2 separate regions of the Homo sapiens genome follow, and region 1 is linked to region 2. Evidence: promoter capture Hi-C in human tissues and cell types (Jung and others, 2019). All regions are on one chromosome and are shown on one strand. Each heading gives the region's core, a stretch centred on a gene start or on the middle of the fragment in contact. The rest is flanking DNA. Distances are from core to core; before and after follow the strand shown.

Evidence for each region. Contacts are between HindIII fragments. The study calls those that stand out against the background at their distance.
Region 1: a contact is called between a fragment that was not itself captured here and the fragment with the promoter of ATP13A5 in region 2, in 1 of the 25 tissues and cell types used here (heart right ventricle).

Annotation. Positions count from the first base shown.
Region 1 is chr3:193,314,682-193,318,879 of GRCh38, forward strand. ATP13A5 (ATPase 13A5) reads right to left here. Exons shown (of 30, transcript NM_198505.4): 18 at 291-415. Among named protein-coding and RNA genes, the nearest start is that of ATP13A5-AS1, 9.5 kb to the left of the region's middle. The HindIII fragment of the contact is 3,272 bases long and covers 1-2,909 here.
Region 2 is chr3:193,377,240-193,382,737 of GRCh38, forward strand. ATP13A5 (ATPase 13A5) reads right to left here and starts at 1,514. Exons shown (of 30, transcript NM_198505.4): 1 at 1,424-1,514. The coding sequence starts at 1,486. The HindIII fragment of the contact is 10,323 bases long and covers 1-5,498 here.

The sequences.
Region 1 (4,198 bases), core at 24-2,523, 63 kb before region 2:
GAGAACACACCCATTCTTGCTCATTTACTGTGAGCCTTGAGGCACCGCACAGATCCTGGCTGGGAGGGGTAGTCATTAGACAAAGAGGATGAGATACGGTCCCTACCTTCAAAGCTTCTGGTCCTGTCGGGGCAGCTGCACATGTTTTTAGGTAAGGGACTACAGGGTAACAAATTCGACAACAGAACATTTTTCCCTGTCTCTGATACATGAACTCACTCAGCTCACACATCTTGTTCTTATGCCTAGGATACAATCAACTTGCCAGGCCCCTAGAAACAAATACATACCTGTAATCATCACAGTCCTGATACGGGCCTCACTCAGTTCCTTCAAGACCAGTTTGGTTTCTTTTTTCAAGCGATTCTCCATGATGAGAAGTCCCAGAAATGTTAACTCTGACTCCACTTTTTCTCTTTGTATTCAGGAGAAAATCAATATTAAAGTATATCTACGTAGGCTCCATAGTTCAATTTATTTCTTCTTTTAAAAATTTATAAGTTTTATTAATGCAATACAGGCACATTTTAAAAATCAAAATGAACTTAAAAGCTTATAATGAAAACCAGTAGTCTGTCTCCACACCACCTCACCCCTCTCCTTCCTAGAGGCAACCACTTCTAAATCTGTTTTTTCCAGTTTCCAACTTTATTTTTAAAAACAATGTGCTTATCTTCCAACTCTTCTGTTGGTTTTTAAATATGTTAATCAAATATACTTTATTTTTTAATTTCTCAGTGCTTTGTCTTTTTTGAGCTTGCAATCGTTTCAGTTTATTTGGCATTTATTAAGGGCATTCTGCATACATACAAGACACGATAGTAGTAGTTGAATACAGTGTCATTCATCTTAGTTTCCATCTGTCGCCTTGAATAATATTTACTGGCATCAGACAGGGCTCTGAACAGTTTTCGGAATTTGAAAGTGATGGCTTATAGTCCAACTGGGTTGCATTAGTTATGTAGGAACGTTCCTCTGAAATGGAATCACTCTTGGGTGGCTTTTTAAAAAGTAAATTTGGGGGCCAAGAACTCTTTTTTGATCTTTGTTCATTTTGCTGTGCACCGTGGTGTTAAGATTACAGGGAGATAGATCTGAACAATATGCATGCAGCTGTGAAGCCATTACCATAATCCAGGTAATAAACATATCCATCACCTCAAAAAGTTTCCTTCTACCCTGTTTTATGTGTGTGTGTGTGTTAAAATCACTTCTCTAGAATGTATTCATCTTGCATAACTGAAACTTTATATCCATTAACAACAACTTCCTATTTCCCCCTCCCCCTAGCCCTTGGTAATCACAATTCTAGTCTCTACTCTCTACTTCTATGAATATGTCTATTTCAGATGCTTCAGATAAGTAGGATCACACAGTATTAGGCCTTCTGTGACTGGTTTATTTCACTTAGCATGATGTCTTTCAGTTTCATTCATGTTGTCTCATATGGCAAGATTTTCTCCTTTTCTAAGGCTTAATAATATTCCATTATATGTACATATTACATTTTTAAAATCCATTCATCCAATGATGAACATTTAGGTTGTTTCCATATCTTGACTATTATAAATAATGCTGCAATGAACATAAAGGTGAAGATACCTTTTTTTGAGATCCCAATGTCAGTTCTTTTGGATATATACTCAGAAGTGGGATTTTGGACCATTGGATCACCTGGTGATCCAATGTTTTAAAAAATTAAAAACATTCTATTTTTAATTTTTTAAAGAACCTCCACATTGTTTTCCATAGCAGCTGTACCATTTTACAAAGGTTCTAATTTCTCTATATCCTTGTCAACTTGTTCTTTTGTTTTTGTTTCAAATAGCCATCCTTACAGGTATGAGGTGGTATTTCATTGTGGTTTTGATTTGCATTTCCCTAATGACTAGTAAAGTTGAGCACTTTTTCATATATCTGTTGGTCATTTGTACGTCTTTGGAGAAATGTCTATTCAGGGCCTTTGTTCATTTTTAAATTGGATTATTTATTGATTTTTCCTATTGAATTGTGTCCTCTGTACATTTTGGATGTTAATGTCTTATCAGATATATGGTTTGCAGAGATTTTCTGCCATTTTATAGGTTGCTATTTCACTCTGTTATTTCCTTTGCTGTGCAAAACTTTTCAGTTTAATATCCACCAGCAAAAGAATGAAATTGGACCCTTATCTTATACCATACGTAAAAATCAACTCAAAATGGATTAAACACTTAAACATAAGACCTGAAACCGTGAAACTACTAGAGGAAAACATAGGGAGAAATCTTCTTGATATTGGTCTTGGCAATGATTTCATGGCTATGACACATAAAGCACAGGCAACAAAAGCAAAAACAGGCAAATGTTCTTTGTTTCTATTTTATGATGCTTCTTCTCGTTCACTACTTTAGGCACTTGGCTGCTTGTTACCCTACAACACTCCCAGCAGTGCTTGTGTCAAAGCTTTTGTACCCACCATTTCTATTCCCTGCAATGCTCTTCCTCTGGATATCTGCGTGTCTTTCTCTCTTATTTTATTAAATGTCTGTTAAAATGTTGCTCCTCTGAGGACTTTGCTGATTGCCTAGGCAAAATGACATTCTCTGTCTTTTTTAAAAAGTCCTCTTAACTTACTTTATATTTTCCCCCTCAGGTCATTTAAGAACCACTAGTGGGATAATATTTTATGGGTTTATTTTCTAATCTATTTCCCCAACTAGGATATATTCATGAGGACAAGGATTTTATTTTATTCACTTCCAAATAAGTTCTCAATTCCTTGAGCGTCTGACATACAGTTAAGTTCAATACAGATTTGCTAAACTGGTGAAGGGGTGAGCCTTGATGGAGTATTTATCCTGCTGTTTTAGTTTGGGGTGACTTTTTACGTCATCTCAAAAAACTTTTCTACTTCCCCATTATGACTCCAATTTTTAAGAAGTTTTAAATTTTTCTAGTTGGAAAACTTTGCTAAATAGAATTTGATTCTAAGAAAAACCAAAACCCTATCCTTTTACCCTGTTTGAAAATAGTAACTAAATTCTAAGAAGTATAATAAGTTCCTGATATTCCCCAAAAAAACCTGGAATGGTTGGAAATATAGCACATTTTATCTTCATTTTCTTATTTTGTTATATTTATAATGTCTATCCCACTAGTGGCTCTTACATGAGAACAACACAGCTGCGTTTGTATGTGACAGCTGGATGATGGCTACACTCCATCACTAGCTACATAGATCTTTTCTTCACACATGTCCTTAACGTTGATTATTCAAATTTGTGTTTAGAAAATTACAAATCCTATGTGGTCTGGACCTTTATGTTTGCTCAAGAATAGCTAACACCTGGAATGTTAAATCTGAGAATGACATTCATATATTTCAAAATAAGCTTTGTGATCCTGTTTCAAGTATTAAAATGTCATGGCTGAAGGCCTTCTTGGAGATCATCCAATTGCATATTTTATAGATGGTGAAACAAGCACAGAGTAAGGAAGGGACTGTGTTTACTAATTAACTTAGAGTCAATGGACTTAGGTTGCAAATAATAATGTTAAACCAAGGATATCACTATTTTACATGAAGGAGCTAGCTGTATATAAATTAGCATTTATCAGCAACACAAATCCAATGTAAGAAATAAATAGATTTTCTGCTATTCAGTTTTCCACAGTATTTTTTTACTCCTTTGTCATAGATAATTTGAAAATAGCCTTTAAAAACTGAAGAACGTTGAAAGAAATAATAATTTATAAATTATCCTCTAATGAGGACAACTTATCCCTGTAATGTAATTAAGAATACTGAATTTTATTTCTCATAAGTAATTCAATTTGCCCTTGTTACCTTCACAGATACGAAGGAGATGTTGTAGTATTGAGCACTGAAAAAACCACGTCTAAAGTATTCTCAAAATCTTTCAAAGTGCCAACTGTCTCCCTCTCTCAACCTCTCTGTGTATGGGCCACCCAAGTTGATTGGTCACATAATGCTCTGAGGTTGAAGGAGCGTTGGTTGTTTTGATGGGATGAGAGCTGCGACTAAAGTTGACATAACATAGTGCCAAGCAGAGATAACACACTGGTATCTTGGAGTCAGAAGCTCTCAAGTACCATCCTTGTTCTGCCACCAACCAGCATTGTGACTTGAGCAAGTCATCTCCAGTATCACCTACAATTATCCATCTCTGAGTCAGGGGACTGTACAAGATTAATT
Region 2 (5,498 bases), core at 264-2,763:
TTTTCATTCTTTAAAAGCTTTAATTCTGAAGATTTTAAAGTGCTGTGCTATTGTCAAGCTTAGCGTGCTACAATAATGCAAGCCACAAATATGAGCTGCCTTCTTAATATTAACGTTCCTAGCAGCCACATTAAAGATGTAAAGAGAAGCAGGTGAAATTTTTACCTAAGCTATCTAAAATATTGTCATTTCAATGTGTAAACAATATAAAAATTATTAATAAGATGTTTTACTTTTTTTTACTAAATTCTTCAAAATCTGGTGCGTATTTTACACATAAAGCATATTTTGTGTGGACTAGCTACTTTTCTAGTGCTCAGAAACTACACGTGGCCCATGGCTGCCTTATTGAACAACATAGATGTAGATGAAATCATATGTTTTCCTTAGAGTAGCAAACAGGGATAGGTGGAGGGAGAGCCGGTATGGATTTGCCCCAGATCTCACAGGGAACCAGGATGCCAGCCAGGAAACTGACATCATTCTAATCTACAAACCATGTTCTCCAAGTTCTTTGGGGCCCCCAAATGTGCCCTCACTCTGACCCTTCCCCTGTCTGTCTCTGTCTCCTTTCTTCATTGTCTAGCTGGAGCCACTGTTGTATGGTGAACAGCACAGGATGTGGAGAAGGAGTCGGCTGGATTCCCAGCCTGTCCCTTGCAGGCTAATGACCTTGGGCAAGTTATTTAACCTCCCTGGTCTCAGATTTCTTTTCAATTAAATAGGATTAGTTCTTTCATCACTGAGGTCTGAGGATTATATAAAATCATAAATATAAACACCTCAGCACCAAATAAACACTATAGTTTTCAACTTTTTAATTATTATTTTTAAATGTGTGTGTGTGTGTGTGTGTGTGTTTGATGAAAACAAGAGTGGGGAAAAAATTGGAGACATGAGAAATGTTTAAAATATGTGTTAAAAATCCCAGGCCACATTCTACTCCTTCTTTAGTAATTGATGCTTAAAACTTCTCTCTGCGCTTATAAAAAGCATGACTTCAGCCCAGAGCCCCCTAAGCCTAGGTTATGCATACATACCCAAAGCACGAGAATAAAAAAGAGTTCTTGTTTTCAATAGAGTTTGTTCCATCACATAGCAATCCAGATAATAAGGGGGAGACACCCCACTGAGCACCATGCGGGGCTCTGCAAATACTGTAAATGTGCGAGGAAACATCACAGGTTCATATGAAGATGGCAAGAATTCTATCATCCAGAGGTCACAAGTTTCTCAGCCCCTGCAGGTTTCCCCACAATAAAATGGTGCTTTGCAGCCCTTAAGGAACCTTACCAGACTGAAACCTTTCAAGGTCCTAAAGCCTGAAGCATAAATGCTACACTCTATTTTCTAATTCAGCTGTAGCCCATACTCACCGCCTTGGGCTCTTTGAGAAGACTAATAAAATAAAGGGAAGACTCACCAGTTCATCCTCCTCTCCCTGGTTGAGCAAAGCCCGATGGTCCTTCTTACTGTTCTCTTCCATCTGAACTCAACCGGCGAGGATCTCTTCTGGCTAACTCCTTGGAGAAATGTCAAAATCCCTTGGGCTTCTGTGAACTTGGAATCGTCACAACTTGTGATTGCTCTTCCCAGGCGCTTTTAAAATCTCTTAGTACACACCTTGCCTATTAGACTAACAAAGGAAAGAGAGAAAATCTTCTCAGGAACAGGATTGGTCTGTTAATCTGGTTATTGTGGGTTTTTTTCCTAGTGTTTGTTTATTGAGCTAGATATGAGTGCCTCAAGACCTGAGGAATGACGGGGGAAGAAGTTGGCAAACTAGAAGGAGAAATCATTTTGTATGCGATCCATAAATGTCTCAGCCAAGGAATGAGAATAGTCACTTTGCTAAAAACCTAAGATAAAAGGATTAGCCAGTGAGAGATGTATAAAAACCCTGCAGACTTTGAAAAAGTAATGAACATATTGGGGGTGACAATGAGAATTGAAGGAAGGGAGGTAGGCTCATGATAGAGAATGTAGGAATCATTTTGGAATTAGAAAAATCTGAGTTCTAATCCGTGCTTCACTGAAGACCCTGGACAAATCACTTAAAATCTGGAATTTCAGTTTCTAGTACATAAAATGTCAATAATAACTATACAGTAATATAAAGATTTAAGATGATAGTCATAAAAAGCCAACGATAGCACCCACCACAGTCACTAAGAGAGAAATAATCATCATCATAATCATTACACTAACCAAGAAGAAAGAGGCTTTAAAAAGTAAACTATATTAATAACTTGATTCTTTTCATTTTCTCTTTAGAGTTTACAAAAGTTTTCAAATGAGCAAAGTATGTGGAGGGAAGAGATGCTAGAAAGTCCGAGGATTAAGGATATAGCCCAAATTTCAACACCACTGAATTTGATATTTTGATTAGAAAATAGGTATACTGTGATCCATTCCAGAGTCAGTTAATTTGTTTGTGATGAAAACTTTTGTCATTTTATTGGCTCTTATTGTATCCTTGCACTTTGACTATGGAAGAAAATTTGCTGGGAATGAAAACTATTAGGGATGATACTTGGCTGTTTCTGCTGACTGAAATAGACACTGATTGCCTTGAGCAGGCATAAGTGTCCAACTTGGTGTTCAGGAGAGATCAACGTGCTCTCTGGCCAGGAGAAAGTGGCTGATGAGAATAAACAGGAAGACAACTAGAGCTCTTCATGCCAGAGGCTCCCGAGGTACCCATACTGAAGTATAATGTGCCGGTGTGAATGTTGCCTTGTAAGTAGTACCAATCTAAGGTAAAATGCATATTTGAAGAAAGGAGTTCTGGATTTTAGTAAAACTTCATTAAAGACACGAGTGGTGGCTATCATTCACTTCTTACCCATCCGCTATTTACTTGTATTTCTTGCTGAAAGAACCCCAACTTTGTGCAGCATGACTTCAGCTAAAAGCACCAAGATGAGTCAATGATTTGTCTATGGGTCGGCGTGTGGCCCAGTTCTAAACAATGAAATAGAAGAGAAAGACATGGTCTTGTGGGAAAGGTTATCTTGTTGATGAAACAGAGAGAAGAACATTTTTTTCTGTCTTCCCCTTTCTGCCTTTCTTTGAAAGTGATCCATGAAAATGCAATGCTTGGAGCATGGTAGCCATCTTTAGGTGGTGAGGAGGATGCAAATCACCATGAAAATTACGGTGAGAAAAGGACAAAAGAAGTTATATGCCTATAACACCACTGATTCATGGACCTACCTACCCCTAAACACCACATTAAATACACAATTAAACATTCTCATAAAGCCACTCTTGCTTGGGTTTTCTGTTACATATAGTCCAAAGATATACATAGCACTGGTCTTGACTCCATTCCACTTTTACTCAACAATTATGTACTGGAAAACAGATGTTCCAGACATTGTGCTAGGCCCTCGAATACAATGGTGTAAAGGAAAGAGCCCCTATCCTGAGAGAGTTTATAGTTACTTGGGAATGACAGATAACTAAGCAGCCTCTTAATTGGGAAATATACTAAACTCAGATTTAATGGAATACAAACAGGTTCCCAAAGGAAGTGACATTTATTCTGACATCTCAAAGATAAGCAGAAGTTAACAGATAGAAAGAATGGGGGATAGTGGCATCTGGTGAGCACAGTCTAGGCTGGGAGCAGAAGGTGTGGAAAGGGTCAAGCGAGGTGGGAAAGGAGCACCTATTCGGGGCATTAAGGGGAATAAAAGTAAGACTTGAGACTAGAAAGATGGGAAGTGATGAGTAATAATTATGATGGAGATGCAAACAAAGGTGTGCTCAAGAAGAGCTTGTCAACCATGGCGAGCTGGACTCTTGTCTGTCCACCGGCCAAGACCCAAGGCCTCAGCTCCTTCCCACTGAGGAACCAACACTCTTTGCCCTGTACAAGTACAAAATACCCACTTCAAATTAAAGTCTTTGAATAATCCCAATGCTCATAAATGTCTTGGAGGCACTGAGCTTCCAGGTCCCAGAGATGTGAATGCTGACATTGGGCCCATTTACCATATGATGGATTCATCAGGGCAAAGTTTGTATTAGATAATCTCGAGGGTCTTTAAGTACTGAGCATTGCTTTAGCCACCAGAGGACAAGCTCTGTGAAGAAAGTAATCACATGGCATTAAACCCTGCCTCCTGGAAGGTCTGCAACAGACATTATAGCTTATAGGACCTAATGCCAGACCCCCATAAGCAACGTGAAGATCCAGTCATGCCTCAATGGCTTAGCCAGTCCCTTGTAGGCACATGGGTGGAAGAGTCACCTTTTATGTTTATACACGTGCTGGAGGGTTGAGGGCATCTCTTCTGGGAGAAGCAGCCTCAGGAATGGTGGCAGTGGCCTCTTCCGGATCACACTAGTATTTCTAGCCATAGAGTTCAGGAGGTCATAACTTAAGCTGGAATTCTTTAGATCTTTTCCATCTGAAGAGGTCAGATTCCCTGTTGCCTATGACTAGAAGCAAAACTGCATCCTGATGAACCACAAAGGCAAACTCTGTCCTAATAAGAAGGAAGCTGTCAGCACCATACAGCATAAGAGCAGGGGCCTTCAGAGACAAGAAGGGAGGGAAGAGACCAATGAAAGACTCAGAAAGGAACAAAGAGTAAAATGTCCACTTCACACAGGGGCCTGAAGAACTGATCATCCCTCAAGAAGCAAAGTCATAGACTGCTGAACAGCTTTCCTATCAGAGTGAAGCCAGAGGAAGTAAATGACTGAGAGAGTGTTTCATCTTCTTCCACAATCCCTGACCTGGAACACAATTTCCAGAAAACAAAAAGATGGGCAAATTTTGCTTAAAGAGGCACAGTGAGATAACAGCAGATCCAGGGCTCAAGCCCGGTTCCCTGCCTCACAGTCCAGCGTATTTCCACCAAGAAAGGCTACCTGCTCTGCTGCTGTATTTTCTCTAGAACTCTGCTCTGAATGCTAGAGAGGTGAGGGACATGGGGATGACATGGATTAGGGAGAGAGGGCGTGTCACCACCTCTAGTCCACGAGGCTTATTCGACGAAGACACAATGGACGTGGTGAGGTTGGTTAGAACCATACCTCACCCTCCTATTTGGCAGAGACAAGATTCTCATCCCCTATTTTCCCATGAAGTAAGGGGGAAACTTATCCAGAGTTGGATGTCTTCTCTAGATTTTCAAGCTCTCTTGATATTTTTCTCCACCCATTAAATGGAGTCCTACTGGAACATTCTATCTTGGAGATCCAGGCTCCTTCCATCTGTGGCTCCACGATTTTCAACACGTGGCTTCCAAGGCTGCCTTGATTATATAAAAGGGGGACTTCATGGAGGATAGTAAATAAAAGTTTCCATGGACTCATCCTGGAAGAGTTACTCTGAACTTACGCTAGAAGATTGATTAGAACTCAGTTAGGTGACCACATCTACTTGCAAAGTTGACTAGGAGTGTGGTCCACCAGTGTGGCAGGAAGAATAGAAAGTGGGTTTGGGGTTACCTAGCCACACAGCCCCAATGATCATCTGAGAG